2 separate regions of the Homo sapiens genome follow, and region 1 is linked to region 2. The links are contacts of gene promoters, found by promoter capture Hi-C in blood cells and fetal thymus (Javierre and others, 2016). All regions are on one chromosome and are shown on one strand. Each heading gives the region's core, a stretch centred on a gene start or on the middle of the fragment in contact. The rest is flanking DNA. Distances are from core to core; before and after follow the strand shown. Region 1 has its middle 150 kb from the start of PARAIL. Region 2 holds the start of CNBD1 (cyclic nucleotide binding domain containing 1).

Region 1 (5,745 bases), core at 1,236-3,735, 2.7 Mb before region 2:
AGCTGAGGCTGGGGTCAAACTTACTAGATCAAATGCTCTTTAAATTTGGAGAGATAAGCATAGCTCAGTGAAGGACAGAGTTACTCAACTCAATTCCAGCCAGAAAACTTACTGAATACCTACTATGACAATTTGGGATATTGCTGTGGGGGAATATACATATAATTAGTACATAGTCCCTGGTTTCAAGACGATTACAGTCTAGGGAGAAAGACATGTACACAACTTACTGAAAACGAGATAATACATGACAAGTGCTGTATTTTCCATTTAATTATTTTAATATACACTCATCAAATGTGTCATGGTCTGTATTAGGTGCTGAGGATTCAGTGATGGACAAAGCCATAAGCAACCTGTCCTCAAGGGGCTTACCTGTTGTTGGAAGGAGACAGATGAGAACATAAAGGAAATATACACATAAAATAATTTGAGATGTTGATAGTGACGGGTGCTAGAAAAAAATTTAGGAAGTTTTTTGGCAGTGAGTTGGTGTTGGCTATTTTCAGTGGAGTGCTCTTCTGAGGGCCTGAACAAGTCAGTCATGTTAGTTTGTGAGGGAAGAATAATCCAGGCAGAGGGAGTAGGGCAGAGCAGGTAGGGCAAAGACCATAGGGTGAGGATGACATTGGAGTTTTACAGAATAAAAATGAGATTGTATGACAGGAACATAGAGAGCGAGAAGAAGAGTGGTACAAGTGAGATCTAGAGATGAAGGCAGGAGCCAGAAAAATGCAGAGCCTTGTATAATACACTTAGAAGTACCTAATCTATCATTCTGAATTTAGAGGAAGCTCACAAAATTTAAGCAGAGAAAATATATTATTTGATGGTTTTGTAAAAAAGATCACACTGGTCGCTATGATGAAATGTAATGTGTACATCATGCACAAAGAAGAGAAAGAGTAACATTACTTTGAAAAAGTTAGGGGACGGAGCCAGGCGCAGTGGTGTGCACCTGTAGTCCAGGTTGAGGCAGGAGGACTGCTTGAGCTCAGGAATTTGAGGCTGTAGTGCACTATGAGTGTGCTTGTGAATAGCTAGTGCACACCAGTTGGGCAATATAGCAAGACTCCGTCTTTGAAAAAGTAAAGTTGGGGAAGCATTGAGAAGGAAGAAGTGCTCTGAGCAATGAGATGGGCATGTTTGGGCAACAGTGAGTTTTCCAGTGTGGCTAGAGCATCCAAAATGTGGGGAGGATGTAATGAGAGGGAATCAGGAAGGAAGGTGGCTATCAGGTTATGTCTTGATAACATTCTGTAGGCAGCTGGAAACTGATCTTTGTTTTGGAAAGATAATGTTGGTGACTCTGTGAAGGATATTAGAGGAGGCAAGAAGACCATTGATGAGGTTCCTGCAATAGGTCATTTGAGAGGGCCAAGTAGTGACAATGAGAAAGAGAAGACAGAAACAAGAGCTGCTGACATGGAGAGCTGACAGCACTTGGTGATGAACTGGGTATCTGTGGTGAGGGGAGGGAGAACCTGAAGACATCTGCAAGGCAAGCTGGGGGCGCCCTTTTCTATGAGAGGAAAGTTGGAGGATAGGGTAGAGCTTTAAGCTTTGAACCAGCTGAATGTGAGTTTTTGGCAGGACCGCCACATGATGCTGCTGGAGAGACAGCGGGAAAAGCAGAGCCGGAGCTCAGGTAGTTTGGCCTTTAAGAGCACACCTATTCCAACTAATTTCTTCTAATCTGTGAAAAATTTTGTGAATTTTAAGATATTCGCTATTTTCAAGAAGACAGAAGTTTCACGAGTGTTTGTCATAATCAAGTGGCATTTTCTACCAAAGGAAAGGTTTTCTTCTTTAAAAAAACAGAACATTCGGTAAAAAGAAAGCTGGTTGATGATTTTGGCTTCCTTTTCTTACTTTGGAAATGGAGTTATCAGACTTGTTCAGCCCCAAGGAATAAAATTAGGGAAGATCGTTATACAACCTTAGTGTTATAAGGAAAAGAAGCCTTGTTAAAATAATGAAGAAGTAGACAATCTCTTATATCCCTGCAGGAGGTATTAGGAGAGAGTAGAAGAAAGCAACTTTTTTCTTAAAGTTTATGTTTGATTATTCTGATAGTTCTTGCAAAATACCGGACACAAAAGACTAGGTCTGGGGGCAATAAAAATTGCTAGATGAGAAAAAAATATGTCAGTAAGAGAAAAAGAGACTTAAAATGTTTGAATTGGAAATCATTAGTTGTCTGCAGTGCCAAGTTGAATAAACTAAAAAGCAAAATGGAAGACTTATGTTCAGTCCCAATCACAGCATGAGTAGGAGCCTTATTCTCTCGGTTTCTTCTTCTCAGTTGTATAATCATGTCTTTGTTAACAGTTACATTTCCTACTCACGAGCCAGGAAATACCTTCTTTGCTGATACTAATGTGAAAGTATGGAGCCAGTCGTGTGGAGACAACAAAGGTCATTTTTAATTGCTATCTCTCATGTCTCAGGACTGCATCATTGCTTACCCAACATGACTCAGCCTCGGTATTGCCACTGACTCACGGAGCTCCTAATAGAGGAGAATTAGTGTCACAGATCGACTGGAAAACCAATCCACATGAAGCCAGGAAGAGAAATGAAGCTGCTGTTGCTGAATCCATAGCTGGCCTTAATGATGCTGGCTAGGAAAGACGGCCCATTCTGGGGGAGATAAGTCAATTTTGCAGTGTCTGTTATTATCATAGTGACTATTGTCTTCCTGTTTTATATTTATTTACCTAAATTGTTTTGGAAAGACTCAGAGGTATAGAGACATGCCTACTTTTTGCAAAAATCATCACACTGTCATGGAGGTAGTCCAGGCTATGGGGCTCTTATTTGTTGGTGTCTTGGGCAAGTTGCTTGACCTCTGATCATTGTTTGCTTATTCTTATATGGCCCCTGTATTTCAGACTCACTCTGTGTCAGGCATTTGTTTACCTTTGTAGCAAGCTCAGGAGGAAAATACCATTGCCCTTGTTTTACAGGTGATGAAACTGTACGTTTTCCAAGGACACAGTGCTAGTAAGTAATGAATGTGAAATTTTAACTGTTTCAATCTCTTCTCAGAGCCAGTGCTAACTACTCTCCTAAACTTCCTCTCATCTGTAAAATATGGATGATAATAACACCTCTTACAGAGTTGTTGTACATATTAAATAATAGAACTGTGAAATGTGTAGTACTTCATTACGCATTAGGCAATCAATAAATGGTTGATAGTATTACTAAAAATAATGAAGAAAAATCTTCACTAAAGCATCCATAGCAGGAAGTCCTTGCTAGAACATAACCCTTTGTCCTTTCAGTGTAAATTAGTGTGATGTTACCAGCACTTACAGCAGATGGTAAGGAACACAATACAAAGGAATGAATCTCTAGTAGTGAAATGTCAGATACTATAACATTTGGATGGAAAACAAGCTTTTGTACATGTTTGAATCATCTTGCTAACTACCGTATCATTTCATGTTGACCTAGCATCCTTTTCCTTTAGTAAGATTGCCCTAATAAAAACAAAGCAATCGAGTTCCAAAGTAAGTGGAGTCTATACGGATCTGAGGGAGGCTGAGGTACCAGAATAAGTTTGTGAAACACTAATTTAGGATAACAAAATACAGTTCCTGATAGCTGTTGTAAATTTTATGTAAACAAATGCAATTAACATGAGAAAAAAACAGGAGTAAGCAGTTTCTAGGTTTTTACAGAATAGCAGCTACAGGGCAAGTATTGTTCTAGAAAAGTCCTGGTCAGGACACCTAAAGCGGAATAAAAAGGAGTGTGGTTTGGCCATATAGATCACTTGTGCTTAGACATTTATAAAGCCAACAAAACAGAAACAAAGATATGTTGCTTCTAATGAGAAGGGGCATCAATTTATGGCTTTGTGTAAGAAAGACTAACCATATTAGATTGTGGCCTTGAGAATAGGGAGAGTATCTTATTCACCCTTTTTTACCTAGAAAGATGTTCACTTTACCATCCCTGTCAGGTGCAAAGTGAACAACTAAGTAATTCTAAGGAAAACTACAGAGTGGAAATAATGAAGATAAAATGCATCATCAATCTATTAAAAAATAGATACAAGAGTTTATAAAGTTTAGCTTCTGATTATTGACCATTTCCTTTATTACTGCATGACACACAAAAAAGCCAAATTCATTTTTTACCAAATTGGGATAAAGATACATTTGGGATGATTTAATTTAATACACAACCTATGTCACAGCATAAATAATTTGATGTATGAATGGAGCCAGGGGCACCACAAAAATACACGCAGACTTTTTTTTATTTTTATTATTTAAGAGATAGGGTCTCACTTTGTTGCCCAGGCTGGAGTGCAGTGATGCAATCATAGCTCACTGCAGCCTCAAATTCCTAGGCTCAAGGGATCCTCCTGCTGCAGCTTCCTGAATAGCTGGCACTTCAAGCATGTGCCACCATACCTGGCTAATTTAAAACCAAAATCTTTTGTAGAGACAGAGTCACCATGTTGACCAGGCTGGTCTAGAACTCTTGGCCTCAAGTGATCCTCTTTCCTTGACCTCCCAAAGTTCTGGGATTATAAGTGTGAGCCACTGCACCTGGCCAGACATTTTATACAGCAGCAGACATTAGATATTATGGCAAATCTATGTGACTACAATTTGAATTAAGACACAGTGGACACTAGAAAACAGCAAGGGTTCCAAAAATATGTGCCCAAATAGAAATAATGAAAGCAGACTTTCCAAACAGTAGGCAGTGATGTGCAGTTAACTTGCTTCTCATGTGGATAATTCTATGTAGCATGCTCCAGAGTATCAGGATTTATTCTTCTGTCCCCCAGACATTAGAACTAAAAATATGGCACAAAACTCTTATTTCAAAGCAGAATTTTAAAGACCAGAATTAATTACTATACTTGTAGAAAATTATTATAACACTCATGTTATTTTTTAAAATTAAACTTTTGTTGAAGGTATGAATGAATAATAATGGGGTTGTCTATGAAGAGGAGAGAATGAAAAAGCTCAGCTTACCAAGATGAATGCTCCTCTGATCTTGTCTTGATGGGCTAAAGCCTTGAAGATTGCTATTGGGAAACTTGACCCAGTTGGCTGCCAAAGGACAACACATCAGGCTGCAGATCATCAAACAGGGTTCTGAGCTGCATCCCCTGGGGCATCCCCTAGTGCACAAAACAATAAAAATCAAGGAGGACAGATGCCCTTTGTGTTTTGTATCTGGTCAACAGTGGGGTATCTAAAGACAGATGAGTATCTTGGATGGAAGCAATCACAAGATTGAATTCCAAATCTTAAGGGAACAGAGGAGAGACAGGAGAAAGTTAAAGAAAGCAGTTGCATTTTTCCAGGTTCACAGCACAAATAGAAAGAATTTGATTGCAGTGAAGTTCAAGGAAAAAGGAGTTTAGGGAAGCTGGTTAGTGTATGGAAATATCATCTCTTAGGACTAGGTACAAGAGATTCCAGAGTATAGAATGTAAAGGAGCATAACAACACCAAATGGCTTTTGTTGTTGTTGTTGAGACAGGGTCTTGCTGTGTTGCCCATGATGGATGGAGTACAGTGGTATGATAACAGCTTACTGTAGCCTTGACCTTCTGGGCTCAAGTGATGCTCCTACCTACCTCAGCCTCCCAAGTAGCTGGGACCACAGGCATGCACCAGCATGCTGGCTAATTTTTACATTTTGTGTAGAGATGGGGTCTCACTGTTGTTGCCCAGAATGGTCTTGAACTCCTGGACTCAAGTGATC
Region 2 (5,885 bases), core at 2,625-5,124:
TGAACTCAGGAGGCAGAGTTTGCAGTGAAATGAAATCACGCCACTGCACTCCAGCCTGGGCGACAGAGCGAGATTCCGTCTCAGAAAAAAAAAAAAAAAGAGTACTATCTTGTTTCTAAATTTCTTGATGTGTCTCTGGTCTTATCTTGAATGCTTTTTTTTTTCCAACTCATATGTTGGAATAAATGAAAGATACCTAGAAATGTCTGGTGAATTAAAACATTTTTGGAACTGGAAAAGCACAGAAATTTTTTTTTCAAGTCAACCAGTAGTCAAAATGTAAAGCATATTTTTAAACCCATTCTTCCTCAGAAGAATAAGCCTAATTAGTGTGAAGAAAATAGAGTAGCAGCAAATTTATCCCAACAAAGGAAGTTAACTGGACCATAAACCAAACGGTGAAGGACAGCTTCTTGCCTTCCATTAAAAATTTTTTAAAATAAGAATTTTTTTTTCTTTTTTTCTATCTCTTCAGGAAATCAACTTATAAAAATAATGGGTCATGTGTGTACTTAAACCAGATGCCATTTCACTTAGGTGGTAAAACTGTACAGTTTGTTAGCTATGATGTTTTTAAAATAATTCTCATCCAGAATGAAAAGTGGAACAGCTCTTCTGCTTTTGAGAACATTCATTCCTCCCTTAAGGTTAGCAAACTGTGAAGAATCCTGAGACAGAAGTCAAAGAGACCAGAGAAGGAAAAGACTTGAAAGTTTCAAAGAAGAAAGAACCACAAGCAGCAAACTAGCTCAAGAAGCTTAACTACTTGAAGTGTCTGAGTCTGAATTTCAGAGTCAACAAGATAGCAGTGGAGGAGGGTTTGAAGATGTGTGACATGTTGCCTCCCATATATTAATAGCATTTAAGTAGCCAAATGGGCAAGAAATTCAGGGCAGGAGGTAAGGGGCAACCCGGAATGCTGCCAGCTTTGTTGTTGTTGTGAGTAGAGTTTGTTTACACAGATGACGCTACGAGGAGCCTCTGCTACTTAACATCTGTGTGAACCTTAGTATGAAACCTAAGCCTTATTATCCTTAAGTGTAAACTGGAACACGTATTAATTTTATATTGCTGCTGTAAAAGATTGCCACTGCCTTAGTGGCTTAAAAAAATAAAAACGTATTATCTAACAGTTCTGGAAATGAGAACTCTGAACCTGATTTCACTGGGCTAAAATCACATCAGCAGGACTGCAATTCTTCTGGAGACGCTAGGGGAGAATCCATTTCTTTGCCTTTCCCTGCTTCTAGAGGCTGCCTGAATTCCTTGGCTTTTGTCCCCCCTCCATCTTCAAAGCCAGCAAGGGCCAGTCGAGTCTTTCTCACATATCATTCTGACTCTCTCGCCTTCCTCTTTTGCTTATAAGGGCTCTCACAATTGTGGCTGGTACCCAGACAAACCGGAATATTCTCCCATCTCAAGTGGAGCCAATTAGCTGCTTTAATTGCATGTGCAGCCTCAATTCCCCCTAACATGTAGTATAACCTATTCATAAGTTTTGTGAATTAAGGCATGGATATCACTGGGACCGTTAATTCTGTCCACCGAAGACATAGAGTTCTTGTAAGAAATACATGAAATAACATAACGTGCTAAATGTTTACATACTAACTACAGAAAGCACTCAATTAACAATATTCACATATAAATACAGACAGCCGGGGCGTGGTAGCTCACGCCTGTAAATCCTAGCACTTTGGGAGGCTGAGGGGGGCAGATCACGAGGTGAGGAGATAGAGACCAGCCTGGCCAACACAGTGAAACCCCATCTCTACTAAAAATACAAAAATTAGCCAGGCACACCTGTAGTCCCAGCTACTCAAGAGGCTGAGGCAGGATAATCGCTTGAACCCAGGAGGCGGAGGTTGTGGTGAGCTGAGATCGTGCCACTGCACTCCAGCCTGGGCAACAGAGCAAGACTTCATCTCAAAAATAAATAAAAATGAATAAATAAATAAATAAATACTTACAGAGAAGGTGAATATGAGTCACTAAATCCAACCTAACTCAACAAATACAAAGTATCAAGGATGTATACAATGGCTGGATTTTCTTTTTAGGTATGTAAATGTGCATTCCTATTTATGCCCACTGCATTTAAAACTCATTTATATATCCTTTGTAATTCAGGTTCAGTCATTTCATAAATTGAAAGCATTCATTACACATTGGCTTCCATGAGATCATTGTTTCAGCAGTGAGACAATCAGTGCTTGCTAAGGAAAATTATTGTCTTGCTACAGTTAGCAAAAAGACACAGTTATTAAGGCAAGCAGGGCACGTCCTCAAAGAGAAGTTGCAGACATAGAAACATCAAGTGCGAACCTCTAAAGGAACACTGGGAGCTCCACCGCTTTCCATTATGCTCTATTCAGTTCTGAGATCTAAATTGCTGCTGATTTTTCGTCTTTTAATCACTTCACAGAAGTTAAGTGTCCTTGGGAGGCACTACAGAGGGTAGCACAAATCTCATCTCATTGATTCTAAATTAATTTGATCTTTTAACTCCCAGCTACCGAGTTTCCTGGGCTTTTTAAAAATATTATTTTATGGTGACTTTTATTTTCTTTTTCACAAATAAAACATGAATAGTAGAAGCTGTGTTTCTTCAGCAAAATTGCACTTAATTCTTATTTCCACTCAAGTAGAAATAGAAAACTTTGACCAGATGCAAGATTATTTTCACTATAATACAAATGGAATTAATTTTGTTTAACATAAGGATTTTGTCTAACACTATTCAAGACATCAGTGTACCCCTTCAAGGAGTATCAACTGCCACCTGTTATACCTTTTAACCTGGAGACTATGAGCATTAATTTTTTAAAATGTATTTGGAGAAATTAACTTTCACAGGAAGGGAAAAGGATGGATGGCTTAGCTTCTTCAAATCAATACTATAAATCTGCCCAATGAATAATAAAATAAGAGTTAATGCTTTATTGAAGTTGAAAAGGATCACAAGTATTACCTTTGTTATCCAGATATTTTTTAAAAATCTTAACTAACACTGGAACTCATACATATTGCTAGTCAGAATGATGGTGTTCAAATAATAGATCTTATAAATTCGATGGCCATGAGAAGTGTTTACAATCTTAAGAAAACGTTATAGGTTTAGACTAATTACATAAAATGAGAAAATACTGTCAATTATATAAACTTTGAAATATCTAGTTCTATACTTAATTCTTATAAGTAAGACTAGAAAATAAAAAAGTTAAATAGGAATAAATTTCACAGTCAGAATAGTAGGAATTATCTTTTTTTCCTTGTCAAATTGAAATGAGAATTCTCCTAGAGAATATTAAGTATTAATTATCCCATTAAGCGTAGTAGGACCAACTCTTGGTAGGGAGTAGAAGATCTGCTAGAAAAAGGAACCTGATAGCTGGTGGAACATGTGGCCTCTCTAAATCTTTGTTTTCTTTCATCTTTAGAAATATTTCAATGTATCTGAAGCTCTAAGAGTTCGTAAAGATCCTCATTTTACAGAGAAAAAATACTTAAGACCTAGAGTACTGAAATGACTTCAAGTAGACCAAGCAGGATTTACACATCTATGTTCTTTCCATTCTTCAGCACTGTCAATAAGATTCCCAATGTCCCTATCAACCCTGAAATACCCCCAATTTTCATAGCTGGGGTAAGAACCGCTGAAAACAATGGTAGGTGAATAAGAGCATCAAAGTATTTCCCACTCACTTGGTATACTGTGAAGTGGAGGAGGAGGCACATTGTTAATAGCTGTCATGTGAGACAAAATAGCTGCTGGAAGAGAAGACATCGGCATCTTGATGGCTCAAAGGCAGATAGATGACCAGAGGCTGCTTGAGAGGCAAATGATCACTCTTTGCCTGCAGGCTCATAAAGCAGAACTTCAAGGTCCTCTCTGATAGGTTGAATCCTACGGAATCTTCTTGTTCATAGTTCTTATCCATTGTTTGTGCATTTCCAAGAGTGTCATCTAGACCAGGAAGAACTATGCTACATTTTAGTCCAGTGGAAATCATAAGGAGGACTTTATGAGCTATAGAGAGTAGCAATAATGAAGAAGGAAACTGTAGCCCACAAGGCTGATACAGCAGAATCAACAGCACTCATGAGTCTAGGTGAAATGAAAGTATTCACTTCCTTGGTCTTCCATAGTCCAGAGCCCTTTTCCTGCCTACCAAATGTTTACACTGGGTATCACAGGCCCTTTCTGTACCAGCAGTAACAGAGATAGCATATTTATACTGTTCTTCATGGCCACATTTATAGGGTAAACCATCCCTTCTAATTATCATACACCAATAAACCCACCCCAGCTTACATTTAACTATATTCTGCTAGAGTGTGGAACATGTTTTTTTGTTATTTTCTGCTGCTTCACAATAATTAAGGATAGTTACAATGGCTAGGGTTTACAATCCTAACTAATGTATCTTTTGATGCTGTGTATTATCTTCCAAGGCCTTTAGAAATAGGGTCCTGGTATCATAACTGTTAGAGTGATACGGACAGGAGACAGGGAAACACTGGGTAGAAGAGGGCAGTTCCCCAGTAAAGGCCCCACCCTCAAGCCTGGAGACCTGCGGCCCTAGATTGGGACAGGCATTCCTGTTTTTGCACCTAAAAAGTTGCCTTTTGGCCTGCAACACACCCTATCCTGTACCCATATAAACCCTGAATCCCAGGCTCCAGAAGCAGACGAAGAGATGAGACAAATAGATGAATGGCAGAATGACAGGCAGAGAAAGTGAGAAAAGGAGGAACATCTGAACACTGAGAGGAGTTCAGCCACTGTACGGCCAAACTCCAGGGGAAGATCATTTTCCCACTCCATCCCCCTTCCAGCTCCCCATCCATCCTGCTGAGAGCCACCTCCACCACTCAATAAAACCCTGAGTTCTTCCTTCAAGCCCATGTGTGACCCAGTACTTCTGGGATGCTGGGCAAGAATTCAGGATACAGAAAGCTATCACACTGGCCCTCTACCCTTGTGAAAAGGCAGAGGGTCCATTGAGCTTGTTAACATCAAGCCATCCATGGAGGGTAGGGCTACAAGGGCACACTGCAACACAATGCCCACTTGGGCTCCTGCACCTGTCCGTCTGTGTGCTCCCCCTCCCCACAGGGTTTGAGCAGCAGCGATGACCAACCAAGCAGGCAAACCACAGCCCTGTCACACATTCTGTGAGGGGAATCAGGGAACTCCCCCATTTCATCAGGTAATATACAAAAGGACTGTGGCTGTCTGATACCTGAACTGGACTAGCAGAGTGTAAACCAACCATTTCTGGAGCAACTTCATCTAGATAACATTAATAACTAGAATAGAAAACATTAATTATGTTACAAAAGTAACAAATTTATTTTGCAACAGTTTCTATTAAATTATATCTGCACAATAAATTTACTCAGGTTATAACTTTTCAATTGAATGTATTTTCCTATTTCCAGTTTTACAAACTCCAAACTCACCATAGACTCAATTTTGTTGTTGAGTCTCATCACTATTGTTTTTTTTTTTTCTGGAGACCAAGTCTCACTCTGTCACCCAGGCTGGAGTGCAGTGGCTCAATTCTGACTCATTCCAACCTCCACCTCCCGGGTTCAAGTGATTCTCCTGCCTCAGCCTCCCGGGTAGCTGGGATTACAGGCAGGTGCCACCACGCCCAGCTGATTTTGTATATTTAGTAGAGACACGGTTTCACCATGTTAGCCAGGCTGATCTTGAACTCCCGACCTCTGGTGATCTGCCTGCCTTGGTCTCCCAAAGTGCTAGGATTACAGGCATGAACCACCACACCCGGCCACATCACTATTCTTCATCTTGCATTCCTTCCACACTAGCCACCTGCCTAGCTCCCACTTCAGAATGGTTCCTTGCCATTCCAACT

The links. The method cuts DNA at HindIII sites, captures the fragments that hold promoters and counts their contacts. A CHiCAGO score of 5 or more calls a contact.
Region 1: a contact is called between a fragment that was not itself captured here and the fragment with the promoter of CNBD1 in region 2, in 1 of 17 cell types (M2 macrophages). The highest score is 6.9, in M2 macrophages.

What each region holds. Positions count from the first base shown.
Region 1 is chr8:89,608,695-89,614,439 of GRCh38, reverse strand. No RefSeq gene overlaps it. Among named protein-coding and RNA genes, the nearest start is that of PARAIL, 150 kb to the left of the region's middle. RefSeq lists an enhancer at 1,634-2,833. The HindIII fragment of the contact is 1,844 bases long and covers 1,564-3,407 here.
Region 2 is chr8:86,864,404-86,870,288 of GRCh38, reverse strand. It overlaps CNBD1 (cyclic nucleotide binding domain containing 1), which reads right to left and starts at 3,874. Exons shown (of 11, transcript NM_173538.3): 1 at 3,706-3,874. The coding sequence starts at 3,793. The HindIII fragment of the contact is 11,844 bases long and covers 760-5,885 here.